7 separate regions of the Homo sapiens genome follow, and regions 1, 2, 3, 4, 6 and 7 are each linked to region 5. The links are contacts of gene promoters, found by promoter capture Hi-C in blood cells and fetal thymus (Javierre and others, 2016). All regions are on one chromosome and are shown on one strand. Each heading gives the region's core, a stretch centred on a gene start or on the middle of the fragment in contact. The rest is flanking DNA. Distances are from core to core; before and after follow the strand shown.

What was found. The method cuts DNA at HindIII sites, captures the fragments that hold promoters and counts their contacts. A CHiCAGO score of 5 or more calls a contact.
Region 1: a contact is called between the fragment with the promoter of BPNT2 here and the fragment with the promoter of NSMAF in region 5, in 1 of 17 cell types (naive CD8 T cells). The highest score is 5.8, in naive CD8 T cells.
Region 2: a contact is called between a fragment that was not itself captured here and the fragment with the promoter of NSMAF in region 5, in 1 of 17 cell types (total B cells). The highest score is 5.8, in total B cells.
Region 3: a fragment that was not itself captured here is called in contact with the fragment with the promoter of NSMAF in region 5 in 2 of 17 cell types (fetal thymus and non-activated CD4 T cells); the score reaches 6.4 in fetal thymus.
Region 4: a fragment that was not itself captured here is called in contact with the fragment with the promoter of NSMAF in region 5 in 2 of 17 cell types (M0 macrophages and activated CD4 T cells); the score reaches 7.3 in M0 macrophages.
Region 6: a contact is called between a fragment that was not itself captured here and the fragment with the promoter of NSMAF in region 5, in 1 of 17 cell types (M0 macrophages). The highest score is 9.1, in M0 macrophages.
Region 7: a contact is called between a fragment that was not itself captured here and the fragment with the promoter of NSMAF in region 5, in 1 of 17 cell types (naive B cells). The highest score is 6.9, in naive B cells.

Annotation. Positions count from the first base shown.
Region 1 is chr8:56,992,212-56,995,381 of GRCh38, forward strand. BPNT2 (3'(2'), 5'-bisphosphate nucleotidase 2) reads right to left here and starts at 1,656. Exons shown (of 5, transcript NM_017813.5): 1 at 988-1,656. The coding sequence starts at 1,374. RefSeq lists a silencer at 1,213-1,772. The HindIII fragment of the contact is 2,693 bases long and covers 1-2,013 here.
Region 2 is chr8:59,954,972-59,958,023 of GRCh38, forward strand. No RefSeq gene overlaps it. Among named protein-coding and RNA genes, the nearest start is that of CA8, 320 kb to the right of the region's middle. The HindIII fragment of the contact is 385 bases long and covers 1,443-1,827 here.
Region 3 is chr8:60,652,761-60,655,722 of GRCh38, forward strand. No RefSeq gene overlaps it. Among named protein-coding and RNA genes, the nearest start is that of CHD7, 24 kb to the right of the region's middle. RefSeq lists an enhancer at 967-1,166. The HindIII fragment of the contact is 5,465 bases long and covers 1-2,962 here.
Region 4 is chr8:60,505,030-60,508,054 of GRCh38, forward strand. The region is part of intron 1 of LOC124901949 (a long non-coding RNA gene); the gene reads left to right. Among named protein-coding and RNA genes, the nearest start is that of RAB2A, 10 kb to the right of the region's middle. The HindIII fragment of the contact is 799 bases long and covers 1,307-2,105 here.
Region 5 is chr8:58,658,439-58,661,555 of GRCh38, forward strand. It overlaps NSMAF (neutral sphingomyelinase activation associated factor), which reads right to left and starts at 1,415. Exons shown (of 31, transcript NM_003580.4): 1 at 1,135-1,415. The coding sequence starts at 1,193. RefSeq lists enhancers at 1-418, 1-242, 419-981 and silencers at 693-1,142, 1,153-1,492. The HindIII fragment of the contact is 3,520 bases long and covers 468-3,117 here.
Region 6 is chr8:60,522,601-60,525,985 of GRCh38, forward strand. All of the region lies in intron 1 of RAB2A (RAB2A, member RAS oncogene family), which reads left to right. Among named protein-coding and RNA genes, the nearest start is that of RAB2A, 7.3 kb to the left of the region's middle. The HindIII fragment of the contact is 1,965 bases long and covers 445-2,409 here.
Region 7 is chr8:60,058,507-60,061,468 of GRCh38, forward strand. All of the region lies in intron 2 of LOC105375861 (a long non-coding RNA gene), which reads left to right. Among named protein-coding and RNA genes, the nearest start is that of CA8, 220 kb to the right of the region's middle. The HindIII fragment of the contact is 473 bases long and covers 1,296-1,768 here.

The DNA.
Region 1 (3,170 bases), core at 406-2,905, 1.7 Mb before region 5:
GAAGCCTGGGTTTGCACATCACTGTTTATCTAATAAAATTCCAGTGAAGACAATTTTTCTTCCCAGTAGCCAAAACTACAGTTAGGTGAGTTAAGATATACGTTAATAAGGTGCTGCTACGCTATGCTGAGCTCTTCCTCAACAAAATTTGCAGTTTCTGGAACTGCAAATTTTAAATATGCTTTATTCAACTCAATAGCAGCTCCAGTGAAATGATGAATTCAAAAAGTATTAATAACAAATCCAAAATGTCTGGATTTCCTTAAGAAAATGTCAACTCCCTTCCCAGAAACCTACCCAAAGAAAAGCCAAATGTTATTTAATTCTTATTCTCTGGAGTAAATATGGATCTTTAATCAAGGGCCAGGTAGGACCAACAGCTGGTATATTTCTAAGTACCTCCTTAAAGGGCCCGCAAACTATAAACTTTAGAGCGTCCTGACAAAAAGACAGCGAAATGAGCATACTCATCCCCCACCCCCCCACCCCGACTCCCGCGAGCGCACACACGCACACACAAATGCCCCGCACACTAACAGCTCTGCAACAAGACTCGGTCTTTCAGCTGGCTACTGGCAGGCCACCCAGAAAATGTGTACTCCAGTTTCGACCCTTCTAGGGATGAAATCAAGGAAGGATAGAGAGTCTTGGTGGATTTTAGCCAACCCCTTAATTCTACAGAGGAGCCTGAAGCTGCGGGTGCAATTAACTTTGTCAGCCTTTTCGTTTCAAGGCCTTCTGATCCCAGGTACACACGGCGCACACCCGACCCAGGACGAGCCAAAAGGGCACGGGCCCTGAGTCAGACTACGTGCAACCTCACCCAGCTCCTCTGCTGTCTGTCTGACCTTGTGCACGTTAACTTCTGCGTCTCAATTTCCACATCTACAAAATGGAACCAGAAGCTCCACATCCCATACTGTTAAGAGTCGACGGGCCGAGACGCGCTACCCGGCTCGAGTGGGCGCTCCGCCCGTGGGCTCCCACCTGGACGCTGGGGAAGGCGGTCTTGAGCAGGTAGAACATCTTGCGGTTGGACAGCACGTCGCCGCTGGTCATCTTGTCCTCGGCTCCCTCGCGCGTCTTCCCCTTGGACTTCTCGTGGAGGACGTTGCTCTCGCGGACGCGCCTCACCTCGTCGCCGCCGCGGACTGCGGCCAGCACTGACACAGCCAGCATCTCGCGCAAGTCCACGGTGCCCCCATCGGCCGCGGCCGCGGGCCCCGCCGCGCCGCCGCCAGGCTCGCCGCCCAGGCCGAAGAGGCTGAAGCGGCCGGCCAAGAAGCCCGAGTAGAGGTGGTAGAGCACGCCGAGCCCCAGCAGGCAAAACACTGCCACCCCCAGTGGGGAAAGGCGGATGCCCATGGGGGCCATGGCGTGGGAAGCCGGGCGCTCCGGGCTGCGGCTCTCACAGGCCTCCAGCGCCCGCCGCCGCCGCCGCCGCAGCCGCCGCGCTCCGGGCCAGGCGCCGCGCGGGCTACACTGGCGCCCGCTCCCCGGCCCCGGTGCGCCCCATCACTCCCTCCCAGGAAAGGCCGAGTTGCGCCGCGAAGACCACCAACGCCGCCCCGCGCGCCTGACTCGCCAGGCAGCGCGCTCTAGGTTCTTCCGCCGGCCGGCTGGTCCGACTTCCACGTTAGCCTACGGCCGCGAGGTGAAAGGGGAGCGTGGGTGTGTATCCGGGTTACGCGACGGGGCGGGGCGAGGGCGAGGGCGAGGGGCGGGGAGAGCTGGGCACCTCCCCTTGGGGCGGGGCGGGGCGGGACAGGAGGCGCTGGACTGAGCTGCCTTCCTTGGTCTGGGTGGGAAGGTATTCCTGGAAGTGGCGAGCAGCAATCCGCACAGGACAGTGTGCTGTGCTGAGTGCCTTGTGGGTGTTTAAATTAAATATCCCATTGTACGACTATGGCTGGCTGTAATAAACCCACAGTAACAGTCTAGTCTTCTCATCACTCTCAGATTATTGAGGAATGGAGGAAAACACAATAAACCATTTTAAAAGATTGATTTGCAAGCTTTTTTAGCCAGCGGGGGTGTAGACAGCCTGTACCTTTAAGTCGCTTCTCCGCGCTCTTCCCGGCAGGACGGGGAACTGGGCGGTGAGGGGAAGAATTGTACTTGGCTCTTCATTCTGTTGACATCTTTGTCGTGCCCTAAATGCTTATGTGTGTATAGAGTTTCTCTCCTCCACCTGCCAGAATAAACCATCCTCGAAGCAGCTGAAAAACATGCCTTGATCCGGGTTTTTCATAATGAAAGAAAGCAAACCAGGCTTCTCTCATTTCCAAGGGTACTCGAGCCTGGCTCTCCTACCAGAGCTTAAGAAGAGGAATTGCTTGACAGAGTCCACTTAAAATAGAGGTTATCCGGAGATGGTCAGTCTAGAACATGTAATCTTTGAGTCAGCGTAGGCTCTCGAAGTATTTTGACAGAAATAACTACCTTCTACTATAACACCGATCTTAGCTAGAATGATAGTGAATACTTTATAAGTATTCATGAGTTTATCTTTAATCTTAAAAGTGAATATTAAGATGTATAGTATTGTTCTTAAATGTTAAAATATCTATATAAATCAACTTAAAATGTAGCCTGTTTTACTGTTCATAGCAAAACAGCATTGGTTTTAAGTGGACTTTAGAATTAACCACCTGAAAAACTGCAAGTATACCAAACTTCTAAACATCCATTGCTAAGCAAGTCATGTAGAGCCTGACCTTTACCGCTTACTTAGAGTTCAGGGCATCCCTAGAATTTGCATGTGATTATACACATACAACAAAAGCACTGCCAGATTATACACATACAACAAAAGCACTGTGATTTCCCTGCCAGAATCACAGCACAAAATCAAGTACAAATACAAATCAGTGAAAGAACAATCCCTAGAGTATTGACAGCACCAGAACTTAAAGAACTAGCATTGCCTTTCTTGTCAGCTTTTGAGAGTAACTTTGCAATGAAGCAAAGCTGCTTTCAAATATCTAAAAGTGAATGTCACAGAGTAATTCTCAAAACCCATCCCAGGGATAAAGATAAACATCAGGGTTGAAATATAAAGGTTTAAGTTAAACAGAACCACCCCAACCTACACTATGACAGCAGCAAAAAGATGAGTTGGATAGTAATCATGTCAATATTAAAAGCATCATTGGGAAGTCTGAGATTTC
Region 2 (3,052 bases), core at 385-2,884, 1.3 Mb after region 5:
TTAAGCCCCTAAATTAGTGACTTTTGTTACAGCAGCAATGAGAAACTAATACACTTTATGAATACTTGTTAGCTTCACAGCCAATGAGTTTGCCTCTAGTTAAAAAGTTAAACACTGGTTGTGCGGTGATTCCTCAAGGATCTAAAACTAGAAATACCATTTGACCCAGCAATCCCATTACTGGGTATATATCCAAAGGATTAAAAATCATGCTATTATAAGGATACATGCACATGTATGTTAATTGGGGCAGTATTCACAATAGCAAAGACTTGGAACCAACCCAAATGCCCATCAATGATAGACTGGATTAAGAAAATGTGGCACATATACACCATGGAATACTATGCAGCCATAAAAAATGATGAGTTCATGTCCTTTGTAGGGACATGGATGAAATTGGAAATCATCATTCTCAGTAAACTATCACAAGAACAAAAAACCAAACACCGCATATTCTCACTCATAGGTGGGAATTGAACAATGAGAACACATGGACACAGGAAGGGGAACATCACACTCTGGGGACAGTTGTGGGGTGGGGGGAGGGGGGAGGGATAGCATGAGGAGATATACCTAATGCTAAATGACGAGTTAAAGGGTGCAGCACACCAGCATGGCACATGTATACATATGTAACTAACCTGCACATTGTGCACATGTATCCTAAAACTTAAAGTATAATAATAATTTAAAAAAAAAGAAAATGAGGCACATATACACCATGGAACACTATGCAGCCATAAAAAAGGATGAGTTCATGTCCTTTGCAGGGACACGGTTGAAGCTGGAAACCATCATTCTCAGCAAACTATCACAAGGGCAGAAAACCAAACATCACATGTTCTCACTCATAGGTGGGAATTGAACAATGAGAACACATGGACACAGGGCGAGAAATATCACACACTGGGGCCTGTCGGAGGGTGGGGGTTTGGGGGAGGGATAGCATTAGGAGAAATACCTAATGTAAATGATGAGTTGATGGGTGCAGCAAACCAACAGGGCACATGTATACCTATGTAACAAACCTGCACGTTGTGCACATGTACCCTAGAACGTAAAGTAAAATTAAAAAAAAAAAAGTTAAGCACTGATTTTGTCTGTTTTGCATGTTTTATTTATAAGAGATAGTCTAAGTTATTTCCAAACTAAGTGATTGCAAAAGGTGTGGTGTATGCATACAAATGGTTTGATTAATCATTAATAAATTCATAAAGGCATCTAGAAAGAAATGTAAAGGTGGGAATGCCCATCTTTGGAGACTGTTGTCTGATAACAAAATATAGGAGCAAAGGCTCAAGCAATATGTGATATGGTTCCAAGTAAAAATGTGAAAATGGTTTTCTTTTCCGCAGAAATGCTCCTGTCATCTTGATAAACACATTCTGGACTATAAGGGACTGATCTGCTTAATGAATAGATATTAGCTATCTACTAGAAGCTTAAATAGCACCACTTTGGGAGAGTGCTATAAAGCAAACAACAGCAAAAAAATTTTCTGAAATAAAATCTTTAGTGGTAAACAGAAATAAAATAATTGATTTAATGAGTTATGCATATTATAACGATAAATATGTAGTAAGTATTTTAATGTATTTGTGGGATTAATTAATACTTGCATCATTAATACTAATGCTAATACATTAATACTAATAAGATTTCCAGTTATTTATTTTTTCTTCTTGTTTGGAAACTCTCATTGTCCATCAGTTGTCACTAAATCAAGCCTCTGTTACTCCAGCCTGAGATGAAGTGATCACAGTTACTCATCTCCAGAAGTTTATAATTTTCTAGGAACACAGAAAAAAAAAATCATCTTTTTTAAGCTTACAGAGAAATCAACAGTGAATAAAAGTATTTAAACTTAGCATTTATTAAAGAAATGTAAATTTTAAATAATGAAAACTGTCATCTACCACCTTGACACTTGAGGAGTCTGTCCTCCTTGGGGAGGTCATGGAGGCTTTCATAGCAGAAGCTGTGCTAAGCTAGGTCTTCAATGGTGAATTGAAAAGGCCAAATGGAGAGGACGTAGAGGTCATTCTAGGCAAAAATATAGAAGGAAAAATGGCACAAAGGCATGGGGGAGTACAGAATGTTCAAGGAACTGAAAGGTTAGTACTAGAAGAGTTTAAAAGATGAGAAGAGAATCCGAAGAACTGAGGTAAGAGTTACAGGAGACATCAGATCCAAAATGGCTTGGAATGACATTCCATGGAGGATAGATTTTATCCTGCTGCCCAGAGAAAGGAATTTTAAGAAGAGAAATCAAATGACTGTCTTTGAAACAAACTTATTGTTGGCGATGTGGAAAATAGATTGAAGGGAAGAAAAAACAATTATACATGAGGGTGCTTCGAAGACCATTGTAACAGCCAGGATGAGATGAGATAGGACAAATATCTGCCCCAGGAGCTCCTCAGATTCACTCAGAGCATGAAAGGAAGAGATGGAACCAATATAGTAGGGAGGGGTAAAATCTCTTTGACTGGGTTATCGATTAACAGAGAAGGAGGAATTGGGGATGATGCTGAGAACTCCTAGTTAAATAACTGGAAGAACTGTGTTATTCACATTAAGGACGAGGGAAAGCATATTTGGGAGAAGTGCTATTTCTGCATCGTCCTTGTTGAGAATGCAGTGAGCGTGAGGCAAATAATTACAATTGTCCAAAGTGCTGTTGAGTACAGGAAACTCAAGCTCAGGTAAGAAATCTTGTTCAGAAATAGACTTGAGCCATCGGCATACATATGGGTGGTATTTGAAAGTGTGGGACTAAATGATATCACCTAGGAAGAGCAAACTGGAGCATTTTAAAGGTAATTTTGAAATAGCTGCTATGAGGACTTAGAAATGAAGATGTTTAGCAATTAATAAAAAAGATTATTCCAAGTGCCACGTTTTCTTCTTGTATATAACCTGTAAGTTTCTAGCTAAAAATTAGCCCTCTCCTTCAGGTGATGCTAAATTTGGTTGATTCAAACTGCTGATTAGTTCACTAAGAGGAAACTTATTTATAAGCTATTCATCAAGTGTGGTGGGTTTTACA
Region 3 (2,962 bases), core at 208-2,707, 2.0 Mb after region 5:
AGAGAACTTAGAGAAGTTATTCACTGACTGGTGGACACACGTTCTAAGATTTTCCTCCGTTCGGTTTAAGAGAAAAGTGCTTACATGTTTCTGATGCCTGGTGATATTTATTAAAATTGAAAGTTGGTCACTTGATATTTTATCATAGGGTTGGGAGAAAGAGGAACAAAAGGCATTTATAAAGCAAAAGCCATTTCTGCAATGCACTCTATTAAAAATTTGAGAACGAATGTGTTTCAACAATCGGATGCATTGAATTAATTTGTAGGAGGGTAGAGTGAGGCTTGTATTGGCTGGGAGATTCACTGCCAGGTGGTCATGCATAAGCCCCTACCCCAAGCTCTCATTTTCCCTACCTGCAGAATTAGACCAATGAATACCCCACCTGTCTCACCGCATGTTTTGAGATTCCGCGTGTGTGAGGGAGGGAGGGCTGGAGCGCAGGCCGGTGCCGTCTGGGCCGCCCTCTCTCCCGGGCGTGCTCTGGACCGTCTCGTCCCCTCCGGGCGCGTCATCCTGCTTTCGGAACCCCCGTGTCCTGAAGTCCAGGCATATTTAACTTGGGTGCCACAGAAATCTCAAAATCTAGGTGTTCTCAGCGGAGCTGGGCACCTTCCCTACAAGCCTCGCGTGTTTCCTGTCTCAGCAAAGACAACACTACAATCTGGTCATTATCCCCCTACCCCAATTCACCTAGCCCCGGGATCCGTTTTGCGTCTGCACTTCAGGCCGCCTGGTTGTCGCTGCTGCAGCTCTCATACCTCGGTGCGGGGCGCGGCGTCTCCCACCTGGACCTCCGGCGACCGCTCACCGCTCTCTCCGCCTCCGCCCTTGCCCCTCCCCTGTCTCGACAGCACAGCCAGTCAGATGCTTTATTTTAATGTAAATCTGTTCGTGTCACTCCTGTTTACGATCTTTTATGGGCTCTCTGTTGCTCTCGGGATAAAGTCCTATCTCCTTAAATTCGCTTAATAGGGCCCTCCTAATCCAGTTACCGCTTTCGTCTGCGGCTGGATCTTTTACCTTGGGCCGCTCCTCCAGCCCTTCTTCGCGTTCCGCCTAACCTGGACTGCTTTCACTTCTCTCAACTTGCCGACTCAAGCTGCTGCAGCACTTCTCCGTCTCCTCCCTGCTTCTTTCGTTTCCTGCACCTCCTTCCCCAGCGTGAGCGTTAAGGGCGCCCGTGGAACCCCTTCCTTTGCCGCGCACCGGTAGCCTTGCACTGCCGTGGGCTGCGGTCCGACCTGGGGCGCGTCCCACGCCAGCCCTTTGGAGCATGGGCTGCATTGTTCCGGTTTCCTAGGACGGTCCTGACAATACTGGCAGAGCCCAATAACCCTTTTAGGATACACAGTGATGGGCGCAGAAAACCAAACAAGTAGCCTGAGATCTTTGCTGATTGATTCATTTTATATTGCTGTATTTTTCAGTTTTAAAATTTTCCACTTTATAAGAATAGCATTTTTTTAAATTATATAAATTTAAAACTGATAATGACGTTTTACACCACAAACAATTACAAATCTCTTTTAGCAGAAAGTGTGTGTGGTTTGTGAAATGAAATCAGGAACAGTGGCTCGATGTTCAATGCACATGGGCAGAAATGTTCACTTTAAACTCAGATGCTGAAACTTTAAAACAGCTGAAACTCATGCCCCAATAATCATTAAAGGAAGGACCAGAAGAAAAGAGCAGTAAGCTGGGCTTATTATTAATTTGTAGGCTAGTAATTATCGATAGGTTAAGAAATTGCTTTGTTACTGGCTTTTTTAAAAAAATCCTGGTACTGTTAATATTTCTATTGTTTATATGAGACGTCAGTGTAACAAATTGGAATTCTCATTTTCCCAGTGCTCCCTCCTAGCTAGCAATGATAACATATGTGCCTTTGGATCTGTAGTATTTCTAAACATGGTTCTGCTACACACTTTCCAATAAAGTTAAACAAGAATTCTTTGTTGAGCTATGTAATATTTAGAGGGGAGGATAGGGGAATAAATCTTAACTACTGCGAATTGTTTCCCTTCAGCCTAACTCTGAAGGAGATCCTTGTTGGTTTTTTCATTACTGTACTACTAGGCTGTTTACTTTGTTACACTTTTGTGGAAGGGAGCAGAACTTAGTAAATAATAAAAAATAAAAAATAAGTGGGGAGAGTTTAATAAAATAAGCAAAAAATAAATGAAATATAGAAGTAAAGTAATAATGCACTTTTAGTTAGAAAAATTTGTTTCTATGCTCTGTGCTATAATTAACATAAGCTCTTATGCCGCTCAATTTATCTAATGAAAACAATATTTCAAGCAGAAGAAATAGGCATTATAGTTATTTACTGTTTCTACAGAAAAATATTATTCAAACATGAATCTTATCTGTTTATAGGACCTGTCAAATAGCTATTATAAACAAATGATAAGAGAATAATAAATGCTGGAGAAATGGCTTTTCTTTTGGAGGTAGGCTTGAATAATTTTGAGTTTAGAAAACATTTTAGACACTCTAATTTGGTAAAAGTCCTAAAATTACACTTCACTTACATTCTAGCTAACTGCATTTTTCACTTTTTAAACCTGTTGAAAAATCTTATTTCCAAACTTGATGGAATGGTAAAGGATTTTTTTAAAGTGTTTATAATGAAACATTTTTAATAGCTAGTTTTAAGAGTATATCTATAATGGAAATACAGTACATTTCAGGCTTATTTATAAGCATGCCAAACCTGATTAGGTGACTACTTGAAATAAACATATTTAAAATGAGATCTAAGAGTGCTGTTTGCTGCATTTGTTGGTTTAGCAGAAATTTCCAGTTAATTGGGCATTGAAAAGACACTGCCAGCCTAGTAGAGATAAGCAGATATGATGACTAGAGAAAGGGAGAGTGGAAAGAGGGTGAGATGTGGGACTAAAAGACTGAGGACTAAGTCAGCGAGCTTTATACCTTCTTCGAGTTATGTCTGAGA
Region 4 (3,025 bases), core at 456-2,955, 1.8 Mb after region 5:
ATGCTGTTAACTTCTTATGAACTCTTTGTTCTAATAAATAAGCATATCCAGGTTTTTCATAAATAAATGAGGAGTCTATAAATTCTTACTAGTTTTAATAGAAACATTGCCACTAAAATGGTGTATTCTAGCTGTGTGAGCTTTTGGAAAATGTTTTCATTTCCTTTATGTTTGAATGTTCCTTCCAGGTCTTTGAAAATATACATTCTGAGTTGAAAAGCTTTATAATAGGTAAAACTCATTAACCCATATACTTTCCATGCTGGGCACAGCAGGTGTGGTAGGTAGAAATATAAGATGACTCCCAAGATTTTTGCACCCTGGCATACACATATGCTTTTCCAGTTGTTGAAACACTAATTTAGGTGCTGCTGTGAAGGGATTTTGTAGATGTGAATAATGTTCCAAATCAGTTGGCCTTAAGATAGAAAGATGATCCTGGATGGGCCAGATCTTATCAGTTGAGTCCTTAAAGGGAACAGCACCCTTCCTGACAAAGAGATTCAAAGCATGAAGGATTAAAAATGAGAGAGATTCTCTATTGCCAGCTCTGGAAATAGAGTAGGTCACGTGGTAAGTCGTTCAAGTGGCCTCTAGTTGCTGAGAGCAGCTCCCAGGTAAGAGCCAACAAGGAAATAATGACTACAAGGAGATGAATCTGGCCACACTATGTAAGCTTGGAAAGGAACTCTGAATGCCAGATGAGGATGCAACCAAGCCAACACCTTGAGTTTAGCCTTATGAGATCCTGAGTCGAGAATCCAGTGAGACGATGCCCAGATTTACCACAACCCTAGAGGCTAAAGACAATACCCCCTAATTATCTCACAATGCTGTATTGTCTTTAGTCTCTAAGGTTATTTAGTAATTTAGTAATAAAAAGCAAATCCAGTAGGACCATGCTAAATTAAGATACAACCTCTATATCATATGATGCAGTGTGAATCAGCACAGTAGAGATTGCAGTGTCTCTGGAAGCCATTTCTATACTGGACAATTCTTTGCAATAATTCAACTACACGTGCAAGTGATCAAATTAATATATCTTACAAAACTAAGTGTATCTTCAACAATACTCTTCCTTAACCAGTACCAAAAAAAAAGATCTGTGAATATTCTCTAACACCTCTCAACACAAGGGCAAGTGTCACAGATGGAAGTGAAGACTAAAGAGAGACAATAGAATTCACTGATTAAGGTTTAAATATCTTACTTTAGCAACTTTTTATTTGCAAAAATAGAAAACTGATCATGTGAACACATTTGCATTAAAAGATGTTTCTGCAAATTAGGGGCCCTGAAATTAAGCTTCATTAGGTTCATGGTAAGTCTACCTCTCTCTTTATCTATAGCACTTGGCAAAGGGCCTGGCATCTGAATGACAGGTCTCAAATGTTCTTTTTCATATGATTACATTAAATAAATCATTAAATTGTTATTTACTTAAATAACTTTAAAATTTTCTTGAGTGAATTAACACTACTTGAAGGATCCCTGTAAACTGAGTCCACTTTCAATTTCCTATCTACTGGGTCACTTATAACAAACCATGTTACACGTATACTTCCTCATCTCTGCTTGTTTCCAAGAAAGGAAAGGTAAGTAATTTAGTTTTTGTATTTCAATTAGTAATTCAATAACCTGTCTGTTTTTTGTTTTTTTAAAGCAAAATAGCTTATCTCAGAGTTCAGATCAGACAATCTCACCACTGGTGTTTGGATTCAGTGTCTTTTGAGGTAAAGTGAAAGAAGAACCTTTCAGAAATGCATGCAGTTAATTCAAGGAGAGGAAGAAGGATCTAGTTCTAAAGAGGTTTTTGTCTATAATTGATTTTTCTAAAGGAAAAATCAACAAAAAGTATAGTGTGTCAATGCTGAATACTCTGCTCTTTCAAACGGACACTTTCGTATTATAATTTGTATCAGATACAGTATCAAGAAAATTAAAATACCCATATACTAAGAGCAAAAAATGTTCTTCAGTAAGTCTGGTAATGAAAACTTCAAGATAAGATTTCAAAATTACATAAGGCTGCAGTTCTTCTAATAAAGATTACTAAACTGTAGTATCAGAAAAGGTACTTTTGGGGAATCAAATGATAGTGAAGCTTCCCTCCTGGTTTGTACCTTAAACTTGCTTGGCTAATGGCAGTACTTTCACCACCCCCATTTAGTGTAACTTTTGTTAAACTTAACTTAAAATGCAAAATGATGCATAATATACAATGTTATTCATAATGATAATAGCTGCTGTAGTATTTGGATATAAGAGTTTTCACAGGCAGGAAAACATTCAGTTTCTAAAAAATGATTCAAAGTTCATGAAAAAGTATAAATAAACGGTTTACTCTGTTGTTCACGTAAATCCCTAAGGACGTGGAATGGAAACAAACAGCAAGTATTCTTAAAAAAAAAAAAATCCTTTTTAGGATCTACTTTGTCATTGTATTCTAGCCTTAAAACAATTGCTTTGCATATAACTTTTTTTAAAACTGAAAAAATATGCTTGATCTTCCTTTTCTGACTACACAATTATTTTTTTCTTTTTTTAATCAAAAACTCACTGCTTGCTAATGACCATACAATTATTGTTGTTGTTGTTGTTTAGAGACAGGGTCTCACTCTGTCACCCCAGCTACAATGCAGTGACACAATCATAGCTCACTGTAGCCTCAAACCCCTGGGCTCAAGTGATCCTTCCAAGTAGCTAAGGCTGCATGCCACCATGCCTGGCTAATTTATTTTTATTTTTTTTATAGATGGGGTCTTGCTATGTTGCTCAGGCTGGTCTGGGATTCCTGGCCTCCAGCAGTCCTCCTGTGTAGCTGGGATTACAGACTTGAGCCACAGCACTGGCCTAAAATAATTATTTGTCAGTTCCTTATTTAAAATATTCTTAGCAGGCCGGGCACAGTGGCTCACACCTGTAATCCCAGCACTTTGGGAGTCTGAGGCAGGCAGACCACTTGAGGTCAGGAGTTTGAGACCAGCCTGGCCAACATGGTGACAACCCACCTCTACTAAAA
Region 5 (3,117 bases), core at 165-2,664:
CACTGGTTAGACCAACATTACAGATTAGAGAAAGATGAATGTCTGGATCAAAGGGGTCGAGTCAACCCTTATAAAACAAGTGTAGACAAATCTTGAAGTCTGCACTTGTATTCCCACGTGTAACCTGCTTTGCTGGTATTCACTGATGAGACAACGTGACAGGCTAGCAGCACTGGAAGATCTGTGGCTCTCACAATCAAAACAGTGTGTCTGTAAAATGATTCAGCCCCCCTTTCCTTTTGGCATCTGAGCTGCAGACCGAGCAAGTTGTTTCTGTCACCAAAAATGCCCTGGGAACTATACATAGAGCCGAAGTGAGCTTTCTTATGAGACTTCCCTTGGGGACAGGTCCAGCATATCTGAAAGGGAACTGCTGTGAGACCATTTTAGCTCAAGGGATCCCAAATCCTTACTGGGATGCTGGTGAGAATGAGTGCTCCGCTGCCGCACCGCGATTTCGACTGCAAAGCTTTCCAACACAAGGTCCACTGCGCGGGGAGCAAGTGTTTGGGAGGCAGGACCTTGGCTTTCCTCAGAATCAGGCCTTTCCGGCGGCCCCCCTCCCAGCCTTCCAGGGCATGGAGCTAGTCCTGTGTCTAAAGGAGTCGGCAGGAAAAAGGCGCGGCAATGCGAGTGGGTGGTCGCCGGCCTGCTCGGTGCCGCCCGGCGACCAACTCTGCGGCGCCGGCGCCGAGTGCCTGGACCCGATTAAGGGGAAGGATTAGAAAGGGGGTGCCCGCCGGGCAGCGTACTCACCCTCCCCTGCGAACGCCCGGGCTCGCGTGCCGGGATCCACGCCCGGACCCCGCGCGGCCTTCCGGGTGAGCTGCCCGCGGCCGCCGGGACCTGCACTGCCGGATAGCTCGGCATGCCTCGGCTCCGCGGTGGAATCTGGCCTGGCCCGTCATCCAGTTCCTGTCCCCGGCAGGCTCCGGCCCAGACCAGGCCCCCGGCCTCTCACCCCGACCTCAGGTTTCCGCCACAGCCCCCAGCCCAGGCCCTGGACACGCGTCCGGCCCCTGCCTCCGTGCCCGGCCCCCACGCCGCCTCCCGTCCCTCAGATCTCCGGCCGGCGTCCCCACGACCGGCCCCGACTAGGCCCCCGGCTGGGCCCTTCTTCAGCTGGGCGCGCACCTCTCCTTGGAGTAGAGCTGCAGCTGCTGCTCCTGCTGCTTCTTCCGGATAAACGCCATGGAGGGTAGGCGCGGGCGGGCGCAGAGCGCACAGGCAGGCCCCGCCGCCGCCTGCCGAGGAGGTCCGGAGGAGCCGGGGAGGGCGGGATTGGTGGCCGGCTGGGGAGCGCGCGGCTGCCGGCCTGGCTTCCCCTGCGGCGCCGCTGGGCGGCCGAGAGCCCGACGCGGCGTCCCGGCCGCGCTCACCGCAGCATCCTCGCGTGGGGACTCCGGCGGCACCGTGACTCAGGCCCGGAGGAGGGGCGCGCGGTGACACGAGGCGCCCCAAACTCAGGCCGCCTCAGAGGATCGCCAGGGCCAGCGGCCAGACCAGGATCCGACCTCACACACTAAACGTTTCACCACTTTACCAACCATTGCAGGCTGCGTTTTAAATATTTTACGCATAAAAAGGGATGCTGGCCCATAAACCACCAATCTGTTGGCCACAAAGACTTGAAATAACAACGTTTTGTGTCCTCCATTGTGAAAAAAAAAAAAAGACGGAAGTTAAAGGGGTGAAGGCAACTCAGTCGTAACTATTCCAAATACACCAGGAATAAGTGGAGATTTATAGCCAAGGAGCAAGGAGCAGGTGTTCGGAAAACTGCTAAGAGGAAACATCAATTCTGGGGGAAATTCTGGCTGAACCAACCTAACAGGAGTCCCAGTGAAGGCAGGCCAGGGGGTCAGATACTAAGGGTAGGAGTAAAGAATTTTGATCACATATGGAGGGTGGGGGATTCTTGCTAAACTGCCGTGGCAGTGTTACTTCCTAACACTGCATTTACAAGGAAGTGCACACAAGGACCTGGGAGAAGATTCAGAAGCCTAACTGAAGTTTGGCCAAGCAAAGAATCTTTAACACAGTCTCTTGATTGTTGAGATAATTGCTCGCATGATTTTTTTTTATATAACAGCTTTATTGGGATATAACTCACATACCAAACAAGTCAACCATTTAAAGTATACCATTCAGCGATTTTTAGTATATTTCCAGATATGTTCAACAATCACCACAATTTGAGAACATTTTCATCACATGTAAAAGAAACCCATACCCTCTAGCTGTCACTCTTCCTAACTCTACCCTCCAAACCCCAGCCCTAGCAAACAATAATCAATTTCCTGTCTCTATGGGTTTGCCTATTCTGGATATTTCATATAAATGGAGCCATACAATATGTGGCCTTTTGTGTCTGGCTTCTTTCATTTAGCGTAATGCTTTCAAGGTTCATCTATGTTGTAGCATGTATCTGTACAGTACTTCGTTCCTTTAGATTGCTGGAGCATATTCTGTTGCATTTTGTTTATCCATTCATCAGTTGATGGACATTTCAGTTGTTTCCACATTTTGGCTATTGTGAATAAGGCTGCTGTACACAGTCATGTACAGTTTTTTTATGGACCTATGTTTCCATTTCTGTTGAGTGGAATTGGAATCTAAGAGTGGAATTGCTGGATGTGGAGGCGAAAGCAGCTCCATCTTGGAAGCTAATCCTCCGTGTTGACTTCTGATTGACCCCAGTTCTGGGAAGGCCTCTAAGATTTCTACTTTATCTATTGTTCCTTGTGTAAGAGCAGGTATCTACCCAGTATGTTCTGTCCTTAATTCAAACAACTTGATGTTATTATACTTCAATTGTCCTACACATCCCTTCTGAACCACCCCTCCCCTATGGTATATAAGCCCTAAGGGGCTGGAGTGATGGCTCATGCCGGTAATCCCAATGCTTTTGGAAGTTGAAGCTGGAGGATTCCTTGAAGCCAGGAGTTCGAGACCAGCCTGGGCAACAAAGCAAGACCCTGTCTCTACAAAAAATAAAAAATAAAAATTACCTGGGTACAGTGGCACACACCTATAGTCCCAGCTACTGGAGAGGCTGAGGCAGGAGGATTGCTTGAAGCCAGGAGTTCGAGACCAGCCTGGGCAACAAAGCAAGAC
Region 6 (3,385 bases), core at 177-2,676, 1.9 Mb after region 5:
CATGCATGGGTTATTTTATTGAAGAATAAATGTGAGTGTGTGTTTGTATTTTAAGATAGGAGAGACTTGAGGTTGAAAGGTTAAATACAAGAGAAGGGGAGGTAAGGAGCAAAGTTGTAGAGGATTTGGGGAAGGATTGGGGAAGGAAGGGGATTAGATTCTCAATAGCTCTAGAGAAAAACAGAAGGAAGACCTCTTCCTGTGGGAGACTCAAATTTGAGTTTCTTTAGATTCTTGTGAATCACTGGAGTGTTTGTTTAAAAAAAAAAATATTCAGCAGCCCAACCCCTAGAGATTTTGATTGACTAGATTTGAGGTGGAGCTGAATGTTGCAAAACCTGCGGCCAGAAGTACTAGTCATTTTATTTTATTATATAAGCAGATTTGTTAGAATTACCTTCAAAAAACAACCTGGGAAGTTCAGAGGTAGAAAAATTCTATTAAAGCTTTTTTATTGAGATGTAGCATGCATATAAAAGAATATATAAAATACATATACACAGTTTAATAGTTTTAAAGAATAATGATAAACACCCATGCAAAAGGACTCCACATTCTTTTTCTTTTTTTTTTTTTCTTGAGACAGTCTCGCTGTCACCCAGGCTGGAGTGCAGTGGCGCAATCTCAGCTCACTGCAACTTCTGCCTCCTGGATTCACGCCATTCTCCTGCCTCAGCCTCCCGAATAGCTGGGACTACAGGCGCCCGCCACCACGCCCGGCTAATTTTTTGTATTTTTAGTGAAGACGGGCTTTCACTGTGTTAGCCAGGATTGTCTTGATCTCCTGACCTCGTGATCCGCCCGCCTCTGCCTCCCAAAATGCTGGGATTACAGGCATGAGCCACCACGCCCGGCCAAGGACTCCACATTCTTACATATGTCTCTTTCTCAACCAGTTTTCCACTGGCCTGAATTTTATATTAATCCTCCCCTGCTTTTCTTCATAGTTGTATCACTTATGGATTCCTAAACTGTATTATTTAGTTTTGCCCATTTTTAGATGTGCTTAGCTGTTTCATTTATCAAATGAGAGCTGAAACATATCTTTTAACATCATTTACAATTTAGATGATATACTTTTGTTAACCTTCATTTTTTTTTTTTTTTTTGAGACAAGTCTCGCTTTGTCGCCCAGGCTAGAGTGCAGTGGCGCGATCTCGGCTCACTGCAAGCTCCGTCTCCCGGGTTCACACCATTCTCCTGCCTCAGCCTCCCAAGTAGCTGGGACTACAGGCGCCCATGACCATGCCTGGCTAATTTTTTGTGTTTTTAGTAGAGACGGGGTTTCACCATGTTAGCCAGGATAGTCTCGATCTCCTGACCTCGTGATCCGCCTGCCTCGGCCTCCAAATTTTTGCTTTATATATATTATTGGTAGTCTTTCAGGATTTTTGACTAGCTCTTTTCTGTCTGTTTTCTAACCCAGTTTATTTACTACTTCCTCCCCCTAATATTTATACCGTGCCTGAGACTTTATAGTGAATCATAGAGGCTATTGTCCCTGTTGTTCTCATTCCTTTTTACCTTTCTTAAACTCCTCTGGTGACTCTCCCTACTCATCTTCTCAATTGGTGTTCTGTCCTTTCTGTCCCATGCCATTCCTGTCCAGCATGAAAGTTTCTCTTTTATCTCCCCAACTGCTTCCCTCCTTCATTTTAATTCTTCAGCTCTCCTCCTCTTGCAGTAGCCAGTCAGTTTGATGTTTTATTTGAGCAGACCCTAATTTTGCCATCTCAGCTGTTTTTCCCTTTCCTTCTGGCCCAGCTGTGCTTACTTCATTTGTTATTCTCTGCTCACTTTAGTCTATGAGGCTGTGTCCTTTGCTACAAAAGATGCAGCCATATGCAGACCTCTCTTGTCCCTCTCCTAACTTTACATTTTCTAAAAGAAACTGTCCCATTTGATTTCATTAGCCTTGATTATTTGCAAGTTTTAAAATACTCTAGTTTTAGCTGTTACTTTTCACTTGTAAGTAAGAGATCCCTGGCAAAAAGGTTCTAGATTCTCTCTCCTGTAATGCACACATAGTAGCCCCCTTTTAATTTCTGCAGTGTTTCTTAACTCAAACTATTAATATTTGGTTCTCATCCATGGAAATGCTGTTTTAGTCACTCTCCGGGGAGTCCCAGACATCAGTATTTTTAAAAAGTATTGTTTGTATTGATGGTAGTACTGTAACATTCCACTGCTGGTAAGCCATGGGCCTTTTTTGCTTATTTTTCTAAAATTGATTCTTCTTTTTCTGCTGCCAAGTTTTCTGCTTTGGGGGATTTTATTTAATCCCTAAGGTGTAGCCAGACTGAATTTGTATGGAATTCTCCATCACATTAGCTTTTGGCATTGTGGTCTGTATAGCAGATTCTCATGAGTAATCCTCCACACTTTTTATAGTTCCTACACCATATCAAAAGCTTATTATCTGTTAATTCTTCAACAGATACATGAGATTACTGTTTTACAGATGGAGAAACTGAGTTGTGTCATTTGGGGCAAATTATCTTAGTAGATGGTTGATCTGGTTTGGCTCTGTGTCCCACTCGAATCTCATCTCAAATTTTAATTTCTGTAGTCCCCACGTGTTGAGGGAGGGATCCCATGGAAGGTGATTGGATCATGGGGTCAGTTTCCCCCATGCTGATCTGGTGATAGTGAGTGCTCATGAGATCTGATGGTTTTATAAGTGTTTGACAGTTCCTCATTCATACTCTGTTTTTCTCCTGCCGCCACGTAATATGTGCCTGCTTCCCCTTCTGCCATGATTATAAGTTTTCTGAGGCCTCCCCAGCCATGCAGAACTGTGAGTCAATTAAGCCTCTTTATAAATTACCCAGTCTCGGGTAGTATCTTTATAGCAGTGTGAAAACGAACGAATACAGTGGTAGAACAAAGATCTAGGGGTGTCTGACTCCACGGGCCATTCTCTTGATTACAGGGTGGTCTGGCTCCATTCCCCTTTGCTCTTTCTTTCCCCATATCTTCTGAGTTTTTACTTTTCATAGCCATAATGTAGCTTTAGGTTTCTCCCAGTTCTCACTTTAAAATATTCTCATTTTCAGGTATAGCTGAGAGTCACTGTGTTTTTAGCCAAATCTAAGGGAGAAAATGAATATTGATAGCAGCATGCTGTAGCCAGCTCCTTAAAGGAAGGATGGTGCCTGGTACAGAGTTAGAGTTAGTGCTTCAGTAAATAATGAATGTGTGCTAGGTAGGTTCTGCTGGGTAGGCTGCATGCATTGACCAATTTATTCCTCCTTGTTTCAAAACAGGATTTAAGGGCACTTATATATATATATTTTTTAGTTTTTTTAATGTAAATGAGAGAATAAAGATATATATATATGTCTATATATGTATATATGTATATATATGTCTATATGTCTATATG
Region 7 (2,962 bases), core at 282-2,781, 1.4 Mb after region 5:
AGAGTCAGCAACCAGGGAGCAGGTAAAGATGGTACCGTTTAATCCCCAGTTCCCCATTCAGTCCTGGTCCCTCCAGAAGCTACCCTGTCCCCAGGCCTCAGTGTGTTTGCCTTCCTCCTCTGGGAGGGGTTAGCACAATTCAAAAGGGCAAATTTTGTAGAAGAGTATGAAATGAGAGCAACTTTTTTTATTGCTGCCCCACACTGCCCTCTGAAGACCCTGTCCTCTGGTTTTGCACACACCAGACCAATGGTCCCAGGCTAAGGTGGCTGTTGATGAGGCTGTAATCTGGACTGAGGCTAAGGGAGAGGGGGTGGTGTGAGAAGGGGAAGAATGGCTCATAATGAAAAGAAGGGAGAAAGTAATTTAAGGAGCAGAGTGGTTACTCTTCAATAGTATAACGATGGATTTTTCCATATTAACCAAATGAAGTGCTAACACCACAATTAAGAGCAAAATCATTGCAAAGTCATCTTCTAGGGACAGGCTACCTCAAGGGCTGTAGGTAAAATTGGATAATGCTTATATTAACATTATCCTTTTCTTTGCATTCAAACTTTGTCCCAGGATATTCCATAGAAAAGATAAGTAGGTGTGCATTTTTTTCCCTAATATTTCCTAAGGAAAGCAAAGATGTTTTACTGAATTCCAGTGTCTGGGGAGATCTGCCTTCCCACGATGTCGTGAGTGGTTGTGTAGAAGAAGATGGTTTCTTTTACCAAAGAGTTCTCCTTCGACCTGGCTAGGAGTTTATTTTTTACTTTGTATGGAAATTCTACAGGGAGCCTAATAGCACAGAATGGAGCCCCAGTATCATTTGTAATATTCAACTGCAACATGGATTTTATTTTATGCCTCCTTCTAAATAAGTCTTTTCTAAATATATTTTTGAGGACTGACGGCACATAAAAGGGAGCTATTAAGGAGAACCATGGGGTGTCTGTGATGGGAAGGACTGATTATCCCTGACAGCCTCCAACTTTGAATTCCTGGAAAGGCAAACCACGAATATTTCAGTGAGCCAAGCATGCAGATACATTTAATGCCACATTGCCCTTCTACCCTTTTCCTCCTCTTTTCCTCTCCCTGGTTTCCCAGCCTCTTCTAAAATGGTGTGTTTATTATGAAGTGTTCTTGGAAGTTTTCTTATGTCATCTGAATCAATATAATATCAGACCTATCAAGATCTATTTTTAAAGGTAAGCTTGTTTGGTCCTCTAGCGGCCTCCTAATTAGAACGCACTATATTTATGTATATGCTTCTTTGCATTGCATTAACAGGATACTCTGGGAAAAGCTTCATGCTTTCAAAACACTGAATTTCAGGGAGGTCCTCGGCAAAATCATGAAACGAATTTGAATCTTACCCTTCGTTCAGGTTTCAGTCTGTGACCTTGGACCCAGATTCCATGAATAGAACATTGTCCTCGCAGGGCAGAGGCTCAATAACTGGACATTTTCTGGGTCCCTGAATTTGTACAATGAGATATCAACTCCAATCTGTGAGCACAATGCTCCAGTGACTGCCAGGAATGGCTGCAATATTGATGCCTTTCAATGTAGATCACATCATTCACCGAGCAGAGCTCAATAAAATGATACTGTAGTTAACAAGTTTTATAACACAAAGTTACTTTAAAACATGGAACTAATCAGAGAGAAGCCTGTTTATGCGTGTCAGAGCCACATTTAATTGTCAATAAATAAACAAAGATTTGCTTCACCTATTGTCATGTATATCAAGTAAGTCATTAATCTAAACTAATGAAGCTTAAGATATATGACAGACAGTTTTTATGGAGCGCCTTCTTAATGATATGTTTGCTTTTCATTTCAATGCCAAGAGAGCCCATTATCAAGAAAGCAGCACATTATGGTCCAAACACATTGAAATCTACAGCACTACTCTTTGTTCGGAGTTCACAATAAGCCGCACTTGCACTTACATATTCATGTACCCTCTGAGATGAAAAGCGTTAGTTAGAAATGAATACGGGTGGGGTGGGGGGAGCAGGGACAATGCATCCAAGGCTTCTGCTCTGTTAAGAGGTTTCCCCCCGCTTTGGATTTTTAAGCTCACCTGGAAAGAAAAAGGAGACTAAATCCAGCCCAATTCATGCCCACATCAATTTTGAAAAATGTGAGTGAATATGTATCATAAACACAGTGAGTCCTAATCATTAAAGAACATCCTGAATCTCTGAAGAACACAAACCCAGGATGCCAAGCTGCAAACAAATAACTACTAGATAATAGAAGCAAGTATTCTACAATTATTTTAATGGGCATGTTAGTTCTCAAGCTTCCATGGTTTTCAAAGAGAAAGTAATTATTTCTTACTCTGCTTCTATTTTGGAAGAGAATAATGTGGACAAGTTAACATCTATCAAACCATAATGATTCCCAACCTGGTGACATGAAAAACTCAGATTAGCTGACCCTTTGGGCTAATGCCACCAAGAGATTCTGCTGCAGGCGCCAAAGACCAAATGAAAGATTCAGTCATGTTGCAGTTTTATTTACTTAAATCTGGAGAAATATGCCTAGCGTCGAACCAGATTACAAGAGGATACAATACATCTATGTGTAGAGCAGGGCAAAAGACTGATTGAATATGGTCAGGGATCTTGGCTATCTTGTTCATCAATGCATTTCCAGAACCTTCCACAGTCCCTGGCTCGTTGTGGGCACATGGTGAATATTTGCTAAGTCTGTGGGAAAAAATCTATGATATAAGGAACAGAAGGATTTTAAAAAGCTTTCCTAGAAATATCCTGCTCTTTTTTCTCTTCCCATTCTGCTACTTACTTCAGTATAAACCGGAAGTAAGCTCTCCACTGTCAAATGTTTTCTCAGTCTGGGCCCTTCTGAAGTTTTAAGTCCATTCCTTCTTGACTTCCCTACTTGCTCAAACCAAAGCAAAATCCAATTCATTCCTTCAAGAGAAAGTCACGGAGCATAC